Linked DNA regions of Homo sapiens: region 2 is linked to region 1. The links are contacts of gene promoters, found by promoter capture Hi-C in blood cells and fetal thymus (Javierre and others, 2016). All regions are on one chromosome and are shown on one strand. Each heading gives the region's core, a stretch centred on a gene start or on the middle of the fragment in contact. The rest is flanking DNA. Distances are from core to core; before and after follow the strand shown.

Evidence for each region. The method cuts DNA at HindIII sites, captures the fragments that hold promoters and counts their contacts. A CHiCAGO score of 5 or more calls a contact.
Region 2: a contact is called between a fragment that was not itself captured here and the fragment with the promoter of SNX5 in region 1, in 1 of 17 cell types (total CD4 T cells). The highest score is 6.3, in total CD4 T cells.

What each region holds. Positions count from the first base shown.
Region 1 is chr20:17,966,458-17,970,543 of GRCh38, forward strand. SNX5 (sorting nexin 5) reads right to left here and starts at 2,337. Exons shown (of 13, transcript NM_014426.4): 1 at 1,918-2,337. The coding sequence starts at 1,968. It overlaps MGME1 (mitochondrial genome maintenance exonuclease 1), which reads left to right and starts at 2,561. Exons shown (of 5, transcript NM_052865.4): 1 at 2,561-2,684; 2 at 3,344-3,913. The coding sequence starts at 3,403. RefSeq lists enhancers at 1,050-1,804, 1,666-1,715, 1,766-1,935, 1,805-2,559, 2,176-2,485 and 3 more and a silencer at 1,966-2,175. The HindIII fragment of the contact is 5,200 bases long and covers 1-4,086 here.
Region 2 is chr20:23,371,587-23,375,672 of GRCh38, forward strand. GZF1 (GDNF inducible zinc finger protein 1) reads left to right here. Exons shown (of 6, transcript NM_022482.5): 6 at 1-1,476. NAPB (NSF attachment protein beta) reads right to left here. Exons shown (of 11, transcript NM_022080.3): 11 at 2,936-4,086. Among named protein-coding and RNA genes, the nearest start is that of GZF1, 11 kb to the left of the region's middle. The HindIII fragment of the contact is 157 bases long and covers 2,005-2,161 here.

The sequences.
Region 1 (4,086 bases), core at 1,087-3,586:
CCTGAACTATTTTCTGAGGAAGAAGGCAAACCCCAACACCCTCGGCTAAAGAATGTAACAAAATGCCAGTGTCTGGCTACCAGACACGACTGACACAGTATTCCCTTTCAGTTTTGCTGAATTGGCCAAAATGAGTATTGGGCTAGAATTCAAAATCCTGAAGAATCAAGTATGTCCCCCTACCTTAGTGAGTCTTAATTAACTCCATCCTTAGGGAGAATTCCAAACCAAAGTAAATTATCAGGAGGGCATTTAAACAATTTAAGTAACACACATTTCAGGTAACACACAAAACATTTCAGTTGACTACCGAAATTGTATTATGGCAAAAAGTTGCCCAAGACTTAGTTTCCCATTATTTCATACTTGCCCCAAACTCCCTTTCAGTTAACCATAACACCATCTAGGCCAGACCACAGCAGGTTATCAGCATCAGCAGAGATCAGAAAACAAAAATAAAGCCACGCGTCAGGGTAATTATTTATTTTTATTGTCTCTTTATTCCTGTAATGTAAAAAGGAAAACAATGTCATGTAACTCTCTTCGCTACAGATACGGACAGTTTCTGTAGCCTCTAAAACAGGCAGGAAATGGCCTTCATAACCATTCTCCAATTTTGCTGGAGGATCAGGGTGGTGGAAGTCATTTTAAAAACCAGCTGCAATATACTGTACTACCAGAGAGTGGGGTGAAGCAATTGAGTCCTTTTACCTAGCTGACTCCGAATCAAGACAGCTAAAAGAATGTACCAGAAAGAAAGAAAAAATAAAATGCTACCAAAATCCCAATCCATTATCTACCCTTTATGGAGAAAAGTACCTTTATAATGTTTTACAAAGAATCGTGGTCTCAAGTTTCCACTTTGTTTTAGTAATAAAGAACTTTCAAAAAAAAAACCACTCTAAACAACACCCTCCTGTATAGAAAGCTCTATTTTAATAATTAATGCAATGATACCCTTGTTGGAACAATCCAGCCGCTTTGAAACTCTGGTATTTACTTACTAGATGAACAAGTTTCTCTATGGAGGTGCCTTTAACTTCTCAAGAAATGTGTAAGTTAAGACGGCTCCAAATTACATTTTAAGAGAGCCTTGTATTTTTAGAGGTTCTTTTTCATCGGTCAGAAAAACTTACGTTGACGATTCTGCAAGAAAGGTTGCTCGCAAACCATGCATCGCAAAGCTACCGAGGCAAATTTAAAGAACCAATGAAAAAGAGTGGAGGCTCGTCTGAATCTTTAATTGGCTATGGGAATTTCAATTTATTGCATAAATAATCTTTTAGACCTCAAGATACACGTGACCTAGGGACAGTTTACATCAATGGGCAAGACTTAAAAATAGACACCAAGTTCAGCAAGTATTTGAGCACCTACTAAAAATTACACAACTCCCACAACAACGCATTTTGCGTTTCTAAAGTTGTAAGCAGCATGTTCGGACGCTTGATGCAATTTCCCAAGTTGTTTGGGCCCCCCCCCCAAAAAAGTCTTCTCAGTAAAAGGTGGGGGGAAGGAGGGTATTTTGGGGGCAACAAACCAAACTGGTCTGTCGCATGTTAAGTCAATTTCACGTTCACCTACTGGTCACCACGAAGCCGAGGAAAGTTTTAAAAAGAACATTCCGGGGTCTCCAGAGATCATCTCTCCAAGTCCGCTCGGCACCGGCGCCTGAGCTGGGGCTAAGGTCCCGCGTCTCTGGTTCTGTCCTAATAGAATCCGGGACATCCACAGGGATTCCCCGGGGCAGCCTTCAGTGAAGACCAGGGAGAGGGGCCGCCCGGGTCTCACGGGTGCTTCCCGCGCTGGGGATGGCGGCGAGCAGCCACGGCCTATGGACGCGCAAGGGAAAGAATGCAGCGACCCCGGAGCTCGCAGGGCCGCCCGCCCAGGAGTCTGAGGCTGGGAGGACCTCACCTTGCTGCGGTCCTCCTCCTGCTGCTGCAGCAACTCGGGAACCGCGGCCATGGCGACGCGGGACTCGAGCAGGGGCCGCCTGGCTGTGCGAGGAAAGAAGAAGCTGGGCCGCCGCCGCCGCCGCCTGGGCGCCTCTCGGGGGCGGCCACGGCCCCGCCTCCGCCGGCCTCCCTGCCCGACGGCGGCAGGAGGCCTCCGGACTCCGCCACCATCCCAGCTGCCCCGGGAGCAGGCGAGCAGGGCGCCACGTGCTCCCCCAGAGCAGCCTCCCAGTCCCCGCTGCCGTCCATCTTGGAGCCGGGCAAAGACGCCACGTGGGGCCTACCCTTGCTCCGCTCCACGAGGAGGCCGCCAACCGCAGGGCCGCGACACGGACGGGAAGCAACGGACACTCTCCCAGCAAGACGCGTCTAGAGAAAGACCGCGTTTCGGTGCGGGGGGAATTTATTACTCAGCCCGAGTCCAAGATGGCAGCGAGCGCTGACGTCACCAGATCTCGTGAGAGCAGAAGGGCGCGATTTGGAGGCTCCCGCGCTTCGGAGACGCCGGCCCTTCCGCTCGGAGAGGTACTCCCTGCCTCTAACTGGTGGCGCGTTGGCGGAGGCCGACGAAAGCCTCGGGTGGGGCGTGAGCGCCGCGGGGCATTCTGGACCTGCTTTGCCTTAGGCTGTGCCTAATTCGAAACCAAAGCGCGGGACGGATGAAAGTACGGGTCGCGAGAGGTTGTTCGCGCCTTGAGAGTTAAGCGAAGTGTGGTGGCTTCCAAGGTACCGACACTTGCCGTAGGCTGGGCTTTTATTTAAGTCGTCTTTTCTCTAATCCAGACTCCTGCCACAGGGGCCACCGCCGTCCTGGCCCCGCCAGGGGTCCGCACCCACGGCGGAGCGGGAGGCGACTTTTTGCGGTCACAGTAATGGGACCTCAGCGCCGCCACCAGCTCTGACCGGCGAGCGACGGGACCCTCCAACCCGATTTCCACGTCTGTGCAACGGGTTCATTCTAGACCCACGGTAGAGGGTGTGAGGACCAAATGAGAAGTATCCACACAGAATACTTAGCAGAGAGCCTGGTGTCTAGGAATTAGTCGTCGTCTGTCACCTAGGACTGTGTGGCCGCCATGGGACGGGCTCCATCTTTGTGTTTTTCCGTGTCTCGCACACGCCTCCCTTCCTGGGCGTCACATTCCTGCAGATTAGAAACTGGGACGTCTTGCCTCAAGCTGTCTACTAATTCGCATTTAGTATGTGTCGGTCCTTCGGGTATTGAGTCTTGATTTATTTATAAATTTTTTTTGGAGGCAGGGTCTCGCTCTGTCGACTTTCTTAAGAAAGGGCTCTGTCCAAACATGTCGAAAAAGTTCACAATTTTGATGTGCAATATCATTCTGATGCAGCTTTCGCTTTGATGGTTGTTTTCTCTCCAATAGGAATACAAACATAAAGGCCTTCGACCGTTGCAAATAGACTAAAGTGAAAACAAATCTGAATGAAGATGAAGTTATTTCAGACCATTTGCAGGCAGCTCAGGAGTTCAAAGTTTTCTGTGGAATCAGCTGCCCTTGTGGCTTTCTCTACTTCCTCTTACTCATGTGGCCGGAAGAAAAAAGTGAACCCATATGAAGAAGTGGACCAAGAAAAATACTCTAATTTAGTTCAGTCTGTCTTGTCATCCAGAGGCGTCGCCCAGACCCCGGGATCGGTGGAGGAAGATGCTTTGCTCTGTGGACCCGTGAGCAAGCATAAGCTGCCAAACCAAGGTGAGGACAGACGAGTGCCACAAAACTGGTTTCCTATCTTCAATCCAGAGAGAAGTGATAAACCAAATGCAAGTGATCCTTCAGTTCCTTTGAAAATCCCCTTGCAAAGGAATGTGATACCAAGTGTGACCCGAGTCCTTCAGCAGACCATGACAAAACAACAGGTTTTCTTGTTGGAGAGGTGGAAACAGCGGATGATTCTGGAACTGGGAGAAGATGGCTTTAAAGAATACACTTCAAGTAATTATCTCAATTCTGATTCTATATGTTTGCTATGTTTTCTATAATAGAGAGCAACGGTGTCAAAAGAATGAGGTTTGGTTTTGTTTTTTTAACTTACTAGCAAGGAACTCCCTTCAGATAGTAATTAACATTAAATAGCACTTTATGTGTATTAACTCACTTGATCCTCA
Region 2 (4,086 bases), core at 833-3,332, 5.4 Mb after region 1:
TGCTTTTAAAAATTCACAATGAAAAGACGATTCTGCTGTATTTGTTAAACGTTGACATTTGGTTCTAGGGCCTTGAGTATGTGCCACGTGCTTGTGAAATGCTATGATTCACATGTAACATTTAAACATTAATTTAAAAAGGGAACCTTGGAGAATTCTTTTGTTCACTAGTTCCTTTTTTCTCTACATTTTTAATTTATTAAACTTGCTGTGAAAACACTTTGATTTTCTAAGAGGAAGGTACTTTAAGTTCCAGAATGAACATGTAGCTGCACTATGCCAGAAATTAATGAGGGAAGACTTTCTTCCTAAGTGCTTATGTTTTAACTTATGTTAGTGAAACCACTACAAGGTGTTTCAGGCGCTGATAACATGCTTCACACCTGCCCTTGGAGGTCACAGTACTAATTTACTTCAAATTTAGTTATGACAGTGTCACTGTATCCTAGTTATGTTTACAGCACAAATAAATAATGACTGTCATACATCCAGAGGAGACCGAACCTGCCCAGCTGATGTACTGTTTTATGGAATAAAGTCACTTGATCAGAAGGAATTGAAACAATAGATCATTTTGTTACCTACTGGAGGGATTTTTGTCTTGAATTTGTTTCCTTAGAAATTCTACAAAAAAATGTTGTTAATAAATGTCTGCTTTGTAAAAGCAGTTTTGCAATTTTTTAAAGATCTATTTCTGTTATAATTTAGGTTCTGCAGAAATATGATTCTTAATTGAAACATATAATTTGCTTAATTACGTGAATAATGAAATGTAAAATCCGGGTCCATAAGCCTTTATTTCATACAGTCCTAGGATTAAGCTGTTTAACTGCTTGGATCCCAGTTGGTCTCTGGCAGTGGGATCCTGGAGAGGAGAAATCCTGGCCTCTGCTCATGCGCAGGCCACAACCGGGCTGGAAGTGCGGTTGAGCTCTCTGCCACTTTCTTCAATGTAAAAAGTAGGCATCAAAGATACGACTTCTACTATATACATTTCTCTGTCCCTGAGAACAGAGAAACGTAACCCTGTAGGGGACTGGTTACAGAGGACCTCCTGGAGCATCTGCCCCATTCCTCCAAGTCCAAGCACAGCCATGCTGAGTGGAAGCGAGGCCACCATCTGAGTGGATTGGTCCCAAGTGTGTAATGAGGAAAGTGGCCAGGTGCCGGCACAGTGCCTCTCCCAGAGCCTCAAGAAGGGCCATTTAGGAGCTTGCTTCAACCATTTTCCAACCATTTTCTGTGAAATGCTGTCAGCCCAAACTCCAAAGGGATGTGCAGCCTTTCGTTTTACCAAATTCTTTGCTGTCGTTTGGAAAAAATGGGCCATGTGGTGGAGACCTTTATTTAAGGTGATTTTTACAGAAATGTGATTTTGCTGTAGGTGATTATCCAAACAAGTAAATTTGAGTGTATAATTTAATTTTTAACCTGTTAAATAAACCTTGTCCCTCCAAGGAGTTCATTTTTGGGAAACAAGATGGGTACTTGTCAATTTAACCAAATGTCATGATATTCATGTACTCAGGAGTAACAATATTTCATTTGATGTGACTGAGAAAGGCACACAGGTCAGAGGATCATCTAGCACAGCAGTCCCCAACCTTTTTGGCACCAGGGACCACTTTTGTGGAAGACAATTTTCCCACAGGTGGGGGGACAGAATGGTTTCAGGATGATTCAAGCGCATTGCATTTATTGTGCACTTTCTATTATTATTGCATTGTAATATACAATGAAGTAATTATACAATGCACCATAATGTATAGTGGGAGCCCTGAGCTTGTTTTCCTGCAACTTGACAGTCCCATCTGGGGGTGATGGAAGACAGCAACAGATCATTAGGCATTAGATTCTCATAAAAAGCGTACAACCTAGATCCCGTGCACGCGCAGTTCAATAGGGTTTGCACTCCTATGAGACTCTAATGACACTGCTGATCTGACAGGGTGCACAGCTCAGGTGGTAATGTGAGCCACGGGGAGTGACTGCAAATACAGATGAAGCTTCACTGCCTGCAGCTCACCTCCTGCCGTAAGGCCCAGTTTCTAACGGGTTGGGGACCCCTGATCTATCACATCATGCTAAATGAGACTCAGAAAATCATCTGCATACCTTTGGCAATCCGTACGTGGACTCTTAACTAAGGCTGACAAAACTAAGCTTTTAAACTACCATGGTGGCATCTTCATTAGGAAATTGATTCTGAGAAGAGCCACTTGATTTAGGCTTTGAATGATCAACAACTCAGAATGCCTAGATGAGGACAGCTTGTTCTACCATTTAAAACATTTTGCTTTGACTTACCTGAAGTGTTGTGAATATACTTTAGGACCTGAAATCAAGGCTCTATGATAGGATGGTAGGATGAGCCGGTCTGCACTACCCGCCATGGGTCCTCTTCCTCATCAGAACTTCAGGCCCCAGTGGTCAGTGGGACTGACCCTTCCCCAGGGGCATCTCCTCTCCCTGTGCAGATATTTTGCAAAATTAAAATAAATGCCCACACTGACCAGATAGTTGAGTGGTACTTTCTTGGGGTAGGAGAGTGTCAGGCTTAGGGGTGCCTCACCTCCCCACCAGTCTTCCAGCAACCATGCCTTCCTCAACTTTGCAAGTAACTGTAGACCCTAAAGGATTCAAGGAAGGGATGAGAATGTGGGGTCTGCAGGGTTATCATGTACTTTAGTGGACTGCATCAACAGAAGTTACCAGGGTTTCCTTCTAAACCCTCAGTCTGCAAAACCATTACGGTGCCCTGGAATTCCCAACAAATGACCGGAGCCTAGAGAGTATTAACGTCTGTTGCCTTAATCTTAACGGGAACAACTTGAAACAATGGAAGCTACTTTTGACCTATGCCAATTTAGCAACAAGACTCATCAAAATATTACTGATAATTTCCACTTTATAGGTTAAAATAAAACAAGCATACTTTTTCTGCTAAGGTAGATTTATTGTTACACATGGTTAGTTTTCATAACGTAATCCCCTGCCCCAGAGCAACTCAGGACTCCATGGAGCAGGAAGCCTGCTCTTGGTCATAGCTCATACCACAGCAGGCAGGTCACGGGGGCATGCTGTGCTGCCAAGTCCTCCAAAGGAAGTCACAAAGGTTTGCATTTGGACATTTAAATCCACAAAATCAGGAGAAACAATAAATGCACAAGGGCTGGTGCATATACTTTGGTTACAGTGACGCCACCACACACGGTCACGACTGTGCAAAAATACTGCTTTCAAATCATTAAATAAAAAAGAACTCACACAAGCTATAAAAATGTTGCCACAAAAAGCAAAACTTTCCTCTAAGAAATATTAACTGACTTTGACTATGAACTAACTCCAGATTTGCTAAAGTACAAGAATTGTACCATAAATAATTATATTTTGTTCATAAGTAACATTCTATAAATCTTGAAGACCTAGCTCACAGGCATCTTGAAACATGGCACTGTCCTACATCCATGGGACATTTAAAGGAAGTAAGTTTGCACACCACTAACTGGGCTTTTCTCTCATTCTTTTTTTTAATCTTCTGGCAGGTCTCTTCTAGCCATTACAATTACTTTGATTCTTTTCATGTGAAATATTAAAAACAAAAATTAATTCTTAACCCCGGAACTGGTCCCAGTGTTTATTGCAATACAAACAAGTGACCCTCTAATTGACACAACAAAATGTTACAAACATTATTGTTAAAAAAAAATACCCCTTCAGACGGGTCTGTTGGAGTATAATGATGAAAGCTAAACATAATTGCCCGAAAATAAATCATGTAGTTTTTACTTTAAGTGGTCAGACCAGAAGATTCTTTAAACAAGTAGAAACAAACTACTTAAAACCAGAGGACTCAAGCTGCAGAACCACTCCTCACACCCCATTTTCACAAAAGTGCATTTGGCTGGTTGTAGGATATATTATTAGGTGGGGAAACAAAACCCCACTTTTCTCTCTGATCATTTTTTCATAAGAGATTCTAAGAGGGAGTGAAAAAGTACCAACTGGACTCCATTCCAGGTCTTACCTCTAGAAGACAGCCAGCTCTCATTTAAGAATCTCAGAACTTGGAAGGAAGGAGGAAAT